4 separate regions of the Homo sapiens genome follow, and all the other regions are linked to region 1. Evidence: promoter capture Hi-C in 16 types of primary human blood cells and fetal thymus (Javierre and others, 2016). All regions are on one chromosome and are shown on one strand. Each heading gives the region's core, a stretch centred on a gene start or on the middle of the fragment in contact. The rest is flanking DNA. Distances are from core to core; before and after follow the strand shown. Region 1 overlaps LOC107987143 (a long non-coding RNA gene). Region 2 holds the start of ENTPD2 (ectonucleoside triphosphate diphosphohydrolase 2). Region 3 holds the start of FUT7 (fucosyltransferase 7). Region 4 holds the start of RNF208 (ring finger protein 208).

The links. Contacts are between HindIII fragments. The CHiCAGO score rates a contact against its expected background, and 5 or more counts as called.
Region 2: the fragment with the promoter of ENTPD2 here is called in contact with a fragment that was not itself captured in region 1 in 1 of 17 cell types (non-activated CD4 T cells); the score reaches 5.5 in non-activated CD4 T cells.
Region 3: the fragment with the promoter of FUT7 here is called in contact with a fragment that was not itself captured in region 1 in 10 of 17 cell types (endothelial precursors, activated CD4 T cells, naive CD4 T cells and 7 more); the score reaches 9.7 in endothelial precursors.
Region 4: the fragment with the promoter of RNF208 here is called in contact with a fragment that was not itself captured in region 1 in 2 of 17 cell types (endothelial precursors and naive CD8 T cells); the score reaches 6.3 in endothelial precursors.

What each region holds. Positions count from the first base shown.
Region 1 is chr9:136,766,802-136,769,501 of GRCh38, forward strand. LOC107987143 (a long non-coding RNA gene) reads right to left here. Exons shown (of 3, transcript XR_001746981.2): 2 at 960-1,348; 3 at 1-873. Among named protein-coding and RNA genes, the nearest start is that of LCN15, 3.6 kb to the left of the region's middle. The HindIII fragment of the contact is 474 bases long and covers 1,028-1,501 here.
Region 2 is chr9:137,052,811-137,055,717 of GRCh38, forward strand. ENTPD2 (ectonucleoside triphosphate diphosphohydrolase 2) reads right to left here and starts at 1,251. Exons shown (of 9, transcript NM_203468.3): 1 at 1,071-1,251. The coding sequence starts at 1,187. LOC105376327 (a long non-coding RNA gene) reads left to right here. Exons shown (of 2, transcript XR_930455.2): 1 at 1-65; 2 at 200-565. RefSeq lists silencers at 1,237-1,306, 1,407-1,486. The HindIII fragment of the contact is 4,509 bases long and covers 1-1,372 here.
Region 3 is chr9:137,030,497-137,033,356 of GRCh38, forward strand. FUT7 (fucosyltransferase 7) reads right to left here and starts at 1,592. Exons shown (of 2, transcript NM_004479.4): 1 at 1,483-1,592; 2 at 1-1,229. The coding sequence starts at 1,495. The coding sequence ends at 214. It overlaps LINC02908 (long intergenic non-protein coding RNA 2908), which reads left to right. Exons shown (of 3, transcript NR_171031.1): 2 at 1,502-2,735. RefSeq lists an enhancer at 1,627-1,736. The HindIII fragment of the contact is 19,925 bases long and covers 1-2,860 here.
Region 4 is chr9:137,220,859-137,223,564 of GRCh38, forward strand. RNF208 (ring finger protein 208) reads right to left here and starts at 1,382. Exons shown (of 2, transcript NM_031297.7): 1 at 1,131-1,382; 2 at 1-880. The coding sequence starts at 354. RefSeq lists silencers at 935-984, 1,925-1,974, 2,285-2,634. The HindIII fragment of the contact is 9,789 bases long and covers 1-2,706 here.

The DNA.
Region 1 (2,700 bases), core at 15-2,514:
AGACCTGCCCGCAGTTATCCAGAGGCCTAACCGTCTCCCTGTGATGCTGTGCTTCAGTGGTCACGCTCGTAGTCCGCCTTCATGTTCCATCCTGTACACCTGGCTCTGCCTTCTAGATAGCAGTAGTCAATTAGTGAAAGTACTAAAAGTCTCTGATATGCAGAAATAATGATGTAAGCTGTCTCTCTCTCTCTCTCTCCGCCTTGGCTGCCAAACAGGGAAGGGCCCCCCATCCGGTGGACACGTGACTCACGTCACCTTACCTATCATTGGAGATGACTCACACTCTTTACCCTGTCCCTTTTGCTTTGTATCCAATAAATATCAGCACAGCCAGACATTCGGGGCCACTACCGGTCTCCACGTCTTGGTGGTAGTGGTCCCCAGGCCCAGCTGTCTTTTCTTTTATGTCTTTTTCTTGTGTCCTTATTTCTATGCCCTCTCATCTCAGCACACAGGGAGAAACTCACCAACCCTGTGGGGCTGGTCCCTACAGAAAACATCTACAAAACGCATACACCTGAGACGAGACTGAAATCCAGCATCCATGAGGAACTCCCAAGACTGAGTAATAAGAAAACAAGCCACTCCATTAAAAATAAAAAGAGGCCAGGTGTGGCATCTCACGCCTGTGATCCTCGCATTTTGGGAGGCCGAGGCGGGTGGATCACCTGAGGTCAGGAGTTCGAGACCAGCCTGGCCAACATGGTGAAACCCTATCTCTTCTCAAAATACAAAAATTAGCCGGGCATGGTGGCGGGCGCCTGTAGTCCCAGCTACTCGGGAGGCTGAGGCAGGAGAATCGCTTGAACCCAAAGTGAGGTGGGTGGGGGGAGGTTGCAGTGAGCCAAGATCGCGCCGTTGCACTCCAACCTAAGTGAAAGAGCAAAATTCCGTCTCAAAATATATATATAAACAAATAAAAATAAAAAGGCAAGAGATCTGAAAAGATACTCCACCAAAGAAAACATCCGGATGGGAGATGAGAACACGCTCAGCATCAGTCCATGGGAAGATGCAACCTGGAAGCTTTTTGAGACCCCTCTGTGCACCTCGCAGACCATGGAAGGCGTTCCACAGAAACAGGCTCAATCCCTAGAGCCTGTGAGGGCTGGGAGTCAGCAGAGCTATCACCCTCTGCGGGAAGAACAAGACGGGACCACACTGCAAAACTTCCTGGCAGACTCTCATGCAGTGAAACATTCCACCAACCTACCTACTTATGGAGGTCTCCACCCGGGAGAAATGAAAACTACGTTTACAGCGAACTTGAGCACTTCTGCATGAGCAGCACGTGATGGACACTCAGCAGTAAAAGGAACGAAGGTGGCTGAATCCCAGGTGCACCCTGCAGAGGGACAGAAGCCAGGTGGAAAAGGCTGCGATCTGCGACTCCTTTTATACGACGTTCTAGGACAGGTGAGCCCACAGGGCAGGGGGCTTCCCAGTGGCTCTGAGGGCTGAGGTGCGGGCAGTGATTGACCGCAAGGGACCTCGAGGAAGCTTTGTGGGCACCAGAGCTGCTGTGTCGCACTTGCAGTGGTTCCATGAACATTTGCATTTGTCTAAACTCACACAACTGTGCCCTCAAAGGGGCGAATGCAGCTGTGCATACATCATACCTCAACTTTTATTTATTTGTGGTTTTTCTTCGTTTTCTTTTCTTTTTTTCTTTTTTCTTTTTTTTCTTTTTTTTTTTTTTTTTTTTTTTTTTTTTTGAGACGGAGTCTCGCTCTGTCGCCCCAGGCGGGACTGCGGACTGCAGTGGCGCAATCTCGGCTCACTGCAAGCTCCACCTCCTGGGTTCACGCCATTCTCCCACCTCAGCCTCCGGAGTAGCTGGGACCACAGGCGTCCACCACCATGCTCGGATAATTCTTTGTATTTTTAGTAGAGACAGGGTTTCACCATGTTAGCCAGGGTGGTCTCGATCTCCTGACCTTGTGATCCACCTGCCTCAGCCTCCCAGAGTGCTGGGATTACAGGCATGAGCCACCGTGCCTGGCCTTGTTTTGTTTTTTAAGACGGGGTCTCACTCTGTCACTCAGGCTGGAGTGCAGTGGTGCAATCTCAGCTCACTGCAATCTCCACCTCCCGGGTTCAAGCGATTCTCCTGCCTCAGCCTCCCATGTAGCTGGGATAACAGTAGCCACCATGCCCGTCTAATTTTTTTTGCATTTTTAGTAGAGACAGGATTTCACCATATTGGTCAGGCTGGTCTCAAACTCCTGACCTCAGGTGATCTGCCCTCCTTGGCCTCCCAAAGTGCCGGGATTACAGGCGTGAGCCACTGCGCCTTGCCTTTTTTTCGTTTTTGACATAGTGAACTGGGGTCCTTTCTCAGAGCTCAGTCCCCTCCCACCCCAACCCCCATGCACGGCCCCCCCCCGCCACCCTGCCACCCCCCCATGCACTGCCCCCCCCGCCACCCCCCCATGCACTGCCCCCCCCGCCACCCCGCCACCCCTCCATGCACTGCCCCCCCGCCACCCCGCCACCCCTCCATGCACTGCCCCCCGCCACCCCCCCATGCACTGCCCCCCCGCCACCCCGCCACCCCTCCATGCACTGCCCCCCGCCACCACCCCATGCACTGCCCCCCCCGCCACCCCGCCACCCCCCCATGCACTTCCCCCCCGCCACCCCGCCACCCCCCATGCACTGCCCCCCCCGACACCCCGACACCCCCCATGCACTGCC
Region 2 (2,907 bases), core at 1-2,500, 290 kb after region 1:
GATGCAGGAGGCAGGGCCCCAGGTGAAGAAGGTCCACCGAGGCTGGCCGTGGGCCTCAGAGCCAGGTCAGCTCTAAAGACACTCTCCCTAGGCCTCCAAGCCAGGGCCAGAGAGAGAGGCTGGCCCTGCCTTGTTGGGGGTGCTGGGTGGGCCTTCCTGCAGACCTGAGTGGCACGAGCTTGTAAATGCCCTTTTCCAGCTCCTGCCCCAGCATCCTGGATCCACCTGGAAAGCTGGGGACCAGCCTCCCAGGCCCGGGCGCCAATTCCAGCCTCCGAGAGGGCCGCACCAGTCCATCCCGACCAAGGCTTCCCCAGAGCCCAGAGCATCAACAGGTCAGCGCGTGCACCGCCACATGGCCGTCCTGCAGGGCCGCAGAGCTCCCTGCTTCTGACTCCCCATCAGGCTGGGGGACTTGGCTCTCCACCCCACCCCCCTACAAGCCCAATAAAGGGTTAAAGGGGCCGACCAGGAGGTCCCTGGGCCTGCTGGAGTGGAGATCCAGGCTAGCCTGCTCCAACCTTTTGAGGACCGGCCAGGGCTGCTCCGGTCAAGCCCTCCTGTCTTTCTGGGCCACTCTCGTGTCCTGGCGGGGGCCCTGGGTCCTGGGGCTTGTGGATCCCCATCTGGGCTGAATACCCAGTCGATGTGGCTCTAACCGCACCCTCCGGGGCGGCGGCACAGGGCAGAAGTGGCCCGGAGTGCCCCTGGGGGCCCGCACAGGCCTGGGGGCGGGCGTCCGGCAGCACCCAGGGGGCATCGCTGGGCTATCCCGGGAGCGGGGACACAGCCCCTGGGCTGCGTTGACGGACTCGGCGGCGGGCGCGGAACTCCCGGGACTTGTTCCTTCAGCACCGCGTCGCCCTGGAAGCGCCACCGCCCCCCGCCCCCTCCGCGTACCCGGTCGGGGAGCGCAGAGCGCGGAACCCGGGACCCCACCCAGCCCGCCAGGAGCAGAGCACGGTGGGGGTCCCGGGCTGATCCTGCTCAGGTTCCCAGCCGCACCCCCTCCCCGGCTCCAAGCCCGGCCCGCTGCTCCCCAGACGTGCGCTGGGTGCCCGGGCGCGCACCTTGAGGGCGGGCGGCTCCCGGACGTCGCGGGTGGGGACGCACAGCAGTAGGAGGCCGGCGAGGCCCGCGGCGGCCAGCAGCAGCGGCGGCAGCAGTGACCGCACCTTCCCGGCCATGGGCGGGCGGGCGCGCGGGAGGACGATGCGTGGACCCGGAGAGTGCGGGGAGCCGGAGGCGGAGGCGGGCGGGGCCGCGGGACCGCGGGGTAGGGGCCCCGGGGCGGGACGAGGGGCGGGAGGCCGGGCGGGCCCGCCCATCACCGGCCACGCCCACGGGCGGACAGGTTTCGCCTCCGCTCCCAAGCTTCCGCCGTCCGGCCCGCGCAGGTGAGAGACGCGGGCGCGGCTGAGTCACCAGCACCGCCCCCCGGCTCCCGGGTCTGAGCCCGGGCGCCCCGCGGCTATGGCCCACCTTCCCCTTCCCGCCCACTCAGCAAGGGGATCCCCCGGCCGTGGAGGCAGGAGACCTGGCGTGGGGGTGGGCGGGCGAGGCTGGCTCGGAGGGTCCTGTGCTGGAGAGCCGCGCTTTTCCCGGGCCCGGGAAAGGAGGCCAGACTCGCTTGCAGGAATGAGGCACTGTCGGCTGCGGAGCCACGCGGGGCCCGGGCTGGGGACTCAGGAGGAAGCCGAGGGTCAGCACCTGTTTGTGGAGCAGGGCCCTGAGCGCCAACTCCCAGGGCTGGTGAGGACCAGGCTGGCCTGCGGGATGCCCTCCCGGCCAGCAAGGATCCGCCAGCCTGCGGCGCTGAGCCAGCGCAGGTCAGCTCCAGAGACACGCAGCTGACCCAGGCCAGAACTACCCTTGAGGCCCAGTCAGATCCACCTCACCTGGGCCCTGTACTGAGGTGAAGGTGAGGACGCAGGAACGGGGAAGGGGAGGGACGGCCCAGGTCACACCGAGCCGAGAAACAGGAGAAGCAGCACAGACCGGGCCAAAGGTCCATACCTCCCAGCCCAGGGCCTCAGCCGCGCCTGCTGCCCCCTCGGCCTGAGGGGAACAGAGGCTTGGGCTGCGGAGGCCAGAGGAGGCTTCCCCAGGACGGAAACAGGTGGGGCCTCTACGTGGCCTGAAAGGCAAGGAAGAGGGTCCCCAGGCCAAGCTTGGGGTGCGGGTCAGCAACAGGCTTCTGGGGACGGCTGGGGCAGGCGAAGCGCAGCTGGCCCCAGACGCAAGCCCTGCTCCTCCGTCCCACGACATGGCTGGCCTTTCGGCTCTGCAGCCTCACAGGCCCCGCATCCCAGCCCGGCCAGGGGCCACCCCCTTTGCGCCTGCTGCAAAGTGGGAATTCTTGTCCCAATAATTCCAGCCACACAGCGTCAGGGAGCCACGAGGCAAGGCCACCAGGGAGTGCAGGCTGCTGGGGCCCAAAGGGCAGCCCCATGGGGCAGGGTCCAGACCATGCCCGGCCTTCTGGAACGGGCAGTGACAATTGTGCTGGGATTGCTGCCTGGGCTGAGGGTCTGGCGCCACAGGCCCAGTAAAGGCATCTTTCTTCCAGCTCAGGACCCCAAAGGGAGGGGTGGGAACCCTGGGAAGCCTCTCTGCTGCCTCAGCCTCACAGCCCAGCCTGGCGGGGCTCCAGCAGGCAATCTCTGGGTGTTGCCGGTGCTAAGCTCCAGGCCCCAGGCCCCAGTTTCCCCCCACACACCCCAGGCCTTTCTTCCACCCCTGACCGCCCAGAGGAGGGAGAGGCACGCACAGTGCACATCATGCCTGAAAAGGAAGGAACAAAGGCCGCCCAGAGGCAGGGTGCTGCGACCCCCACTGGCCTGCGGTACCCCGCTTCCCTCCAGGCCCAGCGGGGCTTCCTGGTGTTCTGGACTCTTTTCATGGACA
Region 3 (2,860 bases), core at 342-2,841, 260 kb after region 1:
TCCCGTCTGCCGCAGCAGGCACCCGTTACCTCCCTCCCACTCTCACCTCCTCTGCATGCTCCAGTGCCCACCTGCACCCCCCACCCCTGCTTCCTGACCTCTGTGCCCAGCCTCCCGTTAGCCCGCTGCTTGCCGGTAAGGGCCGGATGCCTGGTGGTTTGATTTCGACACCCAGCCCTTCCACCCACACCCACCTCCCCCGGCCAGCGGATCTCAGGCCTGAAACCAACCCTCAAGGTCCTCATAGACTTGGCTGCGGGGTAGGTGTGGGTAGCGGTCACAGATGGCACAGAAACGTTCCCGCCAGTCGGTGAACAGTCGCACGCGGAGCCTGTCACGCCAGGCAAAGAAGCGTTGGTATCGGCTCTCATTCATGCCAGTGAGGAAAGCCGCCAGCTCTCGGGCTGAGCCAAAGTCATCCACATGCACGAAGGCGTCAGCCGGCACGAAGGCCTCATAGGTGGCCCGTGGGGGCCCCAGCACCACTGGCACAGTGCCAGCCACCAGTGCGTTGCGCCAGAATTTCTCCGTAATGTAGTCGCGGTGCTGAGAGTTCTCAAAGGACAGGTAGAAGCGGTACTGGGCCACGGTGGGCACCAGGCAGCTGGCGCACAGTGGCCGTCCATTGGCACGGCCAAAGACATCCACCCGCAGATGAGGCGCCAGCTGCCGGTACAGCCTGGCACGCAGCTGCCGCTCCTGGAAGTTGCTGACCACCCAGGCGGCCACCCTGCTCTTGGCTGGCAGCGGTGGCGAGGGCCCCCAGTGGGGCTCCAGGCGGCCATAGGGCACAAAGATGTCCGAGTCGCGCCGGTAGCTCAGCACCCAGTTGAAGATGCCTCGGAGGTGGCTGAGGCCGTGGGTGTGGCTAGGAGACTCCATGGAGGCCCACACCCAGGGCTGCCCTCGCGGCCGCTGGGCCAGGGGCAGGTGGGACCGCCGGGTCTGCAGCTCGCGGTGGTGGAAGACCACGGCGTCGGCGCTGGCCAGCAGGCTTCGGTTGGCACTCAGGTGGCAGCGGGCGATGCCGTAGCGGGTGCAGGTGTCGCTGGGCAGCTCTGGGGGCTGGTCAGTGAAGGGCCAGTGCCAGACAAGGATGGTGATCGTGGGCTGGGGTGCCGGGGTACCCCGAGGGGCTGACCCCAGCAGCCACAGGAGCCAGAGGGCAGCGAGCAGAGCCACCCCGGCCAGGACCCCCAAGCCTCGCAGCCTCCGGGTGGGGCCGTGCCCTGCAGCAGCACGAGGGAGGGGAGGCTCTGTCACTTGGGCTCAGGGACATCCACACGCCCCACTCAGCGCCAACCCCGTCCTCCCCTCCCATGGGCTCAGGGACACCCACATGCCCCACTCAGCGCCACCCCCGTCCTCCCCTCCCATGGGCTCAGGGACACCGACATGCCCCACTCAGCGCCACCCCCGTCCTCCCCTCCCAGGTTGCCTAGCTGTCCCCAGCTTGGGCCTCCCCGAGGGCCAGACACTCACCAGCATTATTCATCCACAGTCTCCCAGGATCAGTCAGCCAAGAGACCCGAGATTCTCAAATCACGGCAGCCGCCAGAGGTGCCCCTGAAATCACAGCTACGCCCTAGCTCAGCCCCGCCTGGAACTGTGCTCCTTTTATCTCTGCCCAAGGTGAGGGAACTCAGGGGACCTTCCTGCTCCTGCCCCGCCCCTGCCCCCACAACCTTTGGCATCAACCACTGTCCCCACCCCCATCTCGGGGACTTGCTAGTCCTGGGGCTGCTGGGAGGGGTACAGCCACAAGAGGGATGCCAAGCCAGGGCAATATGACGCCCCCACAGCCCACCCCACTGGTCTCCAGAGAGGCCCAGAGATGTCCAGCTGGGCAGGCAGAGGACAGAGAGGCTCGGGCAGGCTTGGCCCAGGGCAGAGAAGGCCCAGGTGCAGGCACCCTGAGCACAGATGGCCCCCCAGCCCCCACCCAGCTACCCAGGCCTGGGCGCTGCAGACAGCGAGTGCACTTCCCCAGAGGGCCAGGTGGCTCCTCCCACGGCAGTATCACCCACTTCCCCCAGCTCACCACCAGCTGGGCCCTGGTCTCCCAGGAGAATCTTACACATTGAAGATGTACTGTGCTCAGCTCTTTGCCGGAAGCTAAAGCTCCCAATTGGGCCATCCCACCCCACTCTGCCACCTCTGCCATCTAGGAACCCAGATGCCCGGAGAGGAGGTCTGTCCTGGGGCCCTTAGTGTCTTCCCACAGGAGCCCAGCGCGTGCCTGCAAGGGCCTGGTCCCGGAATGAACTGTGGATGGAGGCTGCTTTGTCCTTTTCCCCGTCCAGATCCATGCCCATAGACACCGCTGACTATAGGCTGGGCCCAGGGTCCCTTCCTCCAGCCTGCAGCAGAGGGGCTTTCCAGGCTGGAAAGGGAAGGAGTCCTTTTGTCCCTGACGCAAGCGGGTTGGGGGCCAGCACCCGCTCCAGGAAGAGGAAGGGATCCAGCCTGAAGTCCAGACTCCCCGCTCCCTCTAAGCCAGGGCCTGGAGCCTGGAGGCCAGGTTCCTTCTTCTACACCAGCCCACGTTGGGTGCCAGCCAGGCTGGGATGGCCCTGCGGGGTCACCCTGAGCCCCAGCCAACCAACACCCCACTCTCAGCCACAGTGGGAGGCCCCATCAGCCTCTTCACCCAACCACGTTGCCACTCTGCTGCACGGGACCTTGTGTGGTCCCAGGCGTGGCCAGACCCAGACGTCCTGGAGATCTCAATGCAGGTCAGGCTTGGTTTGTTTGTTTGTTTGTTTGTTTGTTTTTTGAGAGGGAGTCTTGCACTATCGCCCAGGCTGTAATCCCAGCATTTTGGGAGGCCAAGGCTTGTGGATCACCTGAAGTCAGGATC
Region 4 (2,706 bases), core at 132-2,631, 450 kb after region 1:
CACAATGACCTCATCCTCTGGGGCCACGCGGGGAAAGCCCAGCTCCGAGCTTCCCTTACGGGGCCGCCGTGGCAGTGGCGGGGTATGGGGTGCCCCTTCCAAGGCAGGCATGTCCCCCCCACAGGCCTGGTTGACAATGATCTCTGTGTCTGAGGGCCAGGCACGCTTGGGTGCCAGAGTTGGGGTGGGCCGGGGAGCAGGCGGGAAGCAGGGGGCAGCCGGTAGCTCAGGGAACTTTTCAGGGTGGACAATCTTCATGGCCTCCATCTTGAGGATGACATGGGGACCCTTCAGGCAGGACATGAGGAGGCCCGGCCAGCCACTGCCCGCCTCGGGCCCGGGGTCAGAGGGCATCCGGCTGTCTCCAGTCAGACTGGATGTTCGGGTGGGTGGGGGCGTTGTGTGGGGCTGGGGGGCAGGTGACAGGGCAGCATCCTGGTCCCGCCAGGCCTGGGGGGGGCCCCGGACGGCCCGTGGACTCCTAGGGACAGCCGGCGAGAGTTGGGGGTGCAGGGCCCCCCCCAGTGGCCACAGTGGCTTCTCTGGTCCAGTCCTGGGAGGAGGAGGAAGGGGTGGGGGAGGGGGAGGCAGGCGGGGGCAGGGAGGGGTGGGAGGCTGCCCTGGGCTGGGGGTCTGGCCCAGGGTCTCACCCAGGGTCTCTGGCTGCTGAGGCTGGCGAGGGGGCGCGGGGGGGGCTCCCCCTGCAGCCGAGGTCAGCAGGCCGCGGGCCGGGACATCGGGGCAGGCAGGGGCTGGGTGGGCCCCATGGCTCCAGGACAGGGCGCCCAGGGAAGGCAGCTAGCCGAAGCGCTGGCTGCAGGAGGACCGGGGCGGCAGGCTCCGCGGCAGGAGCAGAGGCGAGGCCTGGGCCAGGCCTGAGCTGCAGGTGAGAGACGGCATGAGGGCAGTGCCCCGGCCACCCCCACCCTAGCCCTCGCCCTGCACAAAGGACCGGGCGCCCGACCTCTGACCCTGACCTCAGCCGTGGGATCCCGACCTCCGCGGGCCTCAGAACCCAACCCCCTCCCCGGTCCCCGCCTCCAAGGCCAGACGCACCTTCCCGAGGGCCGACCCCCGTCGCGTGGGGAGGGGCGCTGAGTCCGCCCCCGGCCCCCGCCCCCTGCGCTCACCTGCCCCAGCCTGGCGTCCCGGCCGCGCGCCGCCGCCGCAGAGGTTGTCTCAAAGGCAGGCCCGGACGCGGCGCCCGCGCCTCGGCCCGGCAGCTCGGGGGGCTCCGGCGGCTCCGGCGGCGGCCGCAGCGACCTCAGGCGATGGCGGGGCCCGGGCGGCACCGAGGGGCGCGGGCGCGGGCGTGGGGCGCGGGGCGCGGGTTTCGGCACGGCGGCGACGGCGGCAGGTGCGTGCGGAGCGTGGCGCGCTCTGCGGCGGAGGCGCGGGGACCGCAGTGCGCGCGGCGCCCGCCCGCGCCCGCAGCGCCACCCCCCGTCTGGGGACCCGCGCGGGGTCCGCGGGGCGGGGCCAGCCTCCCGGCCGCCCCTCGGTCCGCTCCCGGCGTCGCTCTCGCCCGCGGACTGCGTGGGGGGCAGGACCCCCGCGTCGCCCCCAGTTCTCTCCAGGCTGATCCTGGGTCCTGGTCAAGCCCCCGCCCCCCCAGATTCAGGAGGAGAATCCGGCTGTTCTCCTCCCTCACAGTAGGAGGCCTCAGGACTCTGGAGTGAGAGGGAGGGGACCTGCGCGGAGGATCCCAGGGGAGCTGGTTCCAGGGCCCACCGGTGCCTTCCCCCGTCCCCGGCCCCCCGCCCCATGGGAAGGCCCCGAGTCCTCCAGCTCCGCCTGTGCCCGGTGCCGTAGCTCAGATAGATCGCTGTGACTCTAAGGGGCAAGAGCGGGGCGGGCGGAGCGGATCAGAAGGCCGAGGCCGGTGGACGGACGGGTCCGGTGGGAGTGCGCGAAGGACAGGCTGGCAGCCCAGTGCGGGGTGGAGGCGGCCCTGAGGACCGCACCTGCCCGGACAGGGTGGCCCCTGGCACTCCAGCGCGCAGGCCCGGGCCTCTCCGCTTCCTCACCCGGGGCTTCCCTGCCCTCCTGGGTCCGCCTTCTGCCTGTGGAGCCCTCGGGCTTGCTGGTCACCGTGAGGCAGGGGACCAGGGCTTCGAGGGCCTCCGCTGCCACGCTGTGACCAGCTCTGGCCCCGCACCTGGCCCTGGACATCCTGGCCTCCTTCAGCTCCTCTCTCCGCTGGACTGGCCAGACCGCACCTGCTCTAGGCAGAGCCCCAGGGCCTGCAGAGTGCTGAGCCCAGAGGGGACGGTGCCGCTGGTGCGGGAGCTCGCGTGGGCAAAACAGGCTGGAGGAGCAGCCCTGCGCATAGGGTCTGGCTTGGCCCCTCTGTGGGGCCTCGGGCGAGTGTCACTCAGAAGAGCAATAGGGAGAGGTGTGCGGGTGACAGGGGCGCTGCTGGAGGGGTCCTTACGGGGCCCTGGCAAGATGGTGGGGCAACTGAGGCAGCCTGGGCCTGGGGAGGGCCGGGAGCCCAGCTCCGCCGCAGACTCTGCTCACCGACCCGGCGTGCGCCCGAGGAAGCACCAGGCCGCAGGCCCCGCCCCCTCAGCGAGACCCCACCCCGTAGGGGATGAGATCCCGCCCCCGCCACGAGGCCCCGCCCCCCAGGCCAGGCCTTTTCAGACCCGCCATTCAGAGCTGGAGAACCCCAAGCCGAGTATTGGTCACATCCGAACCGGGTCT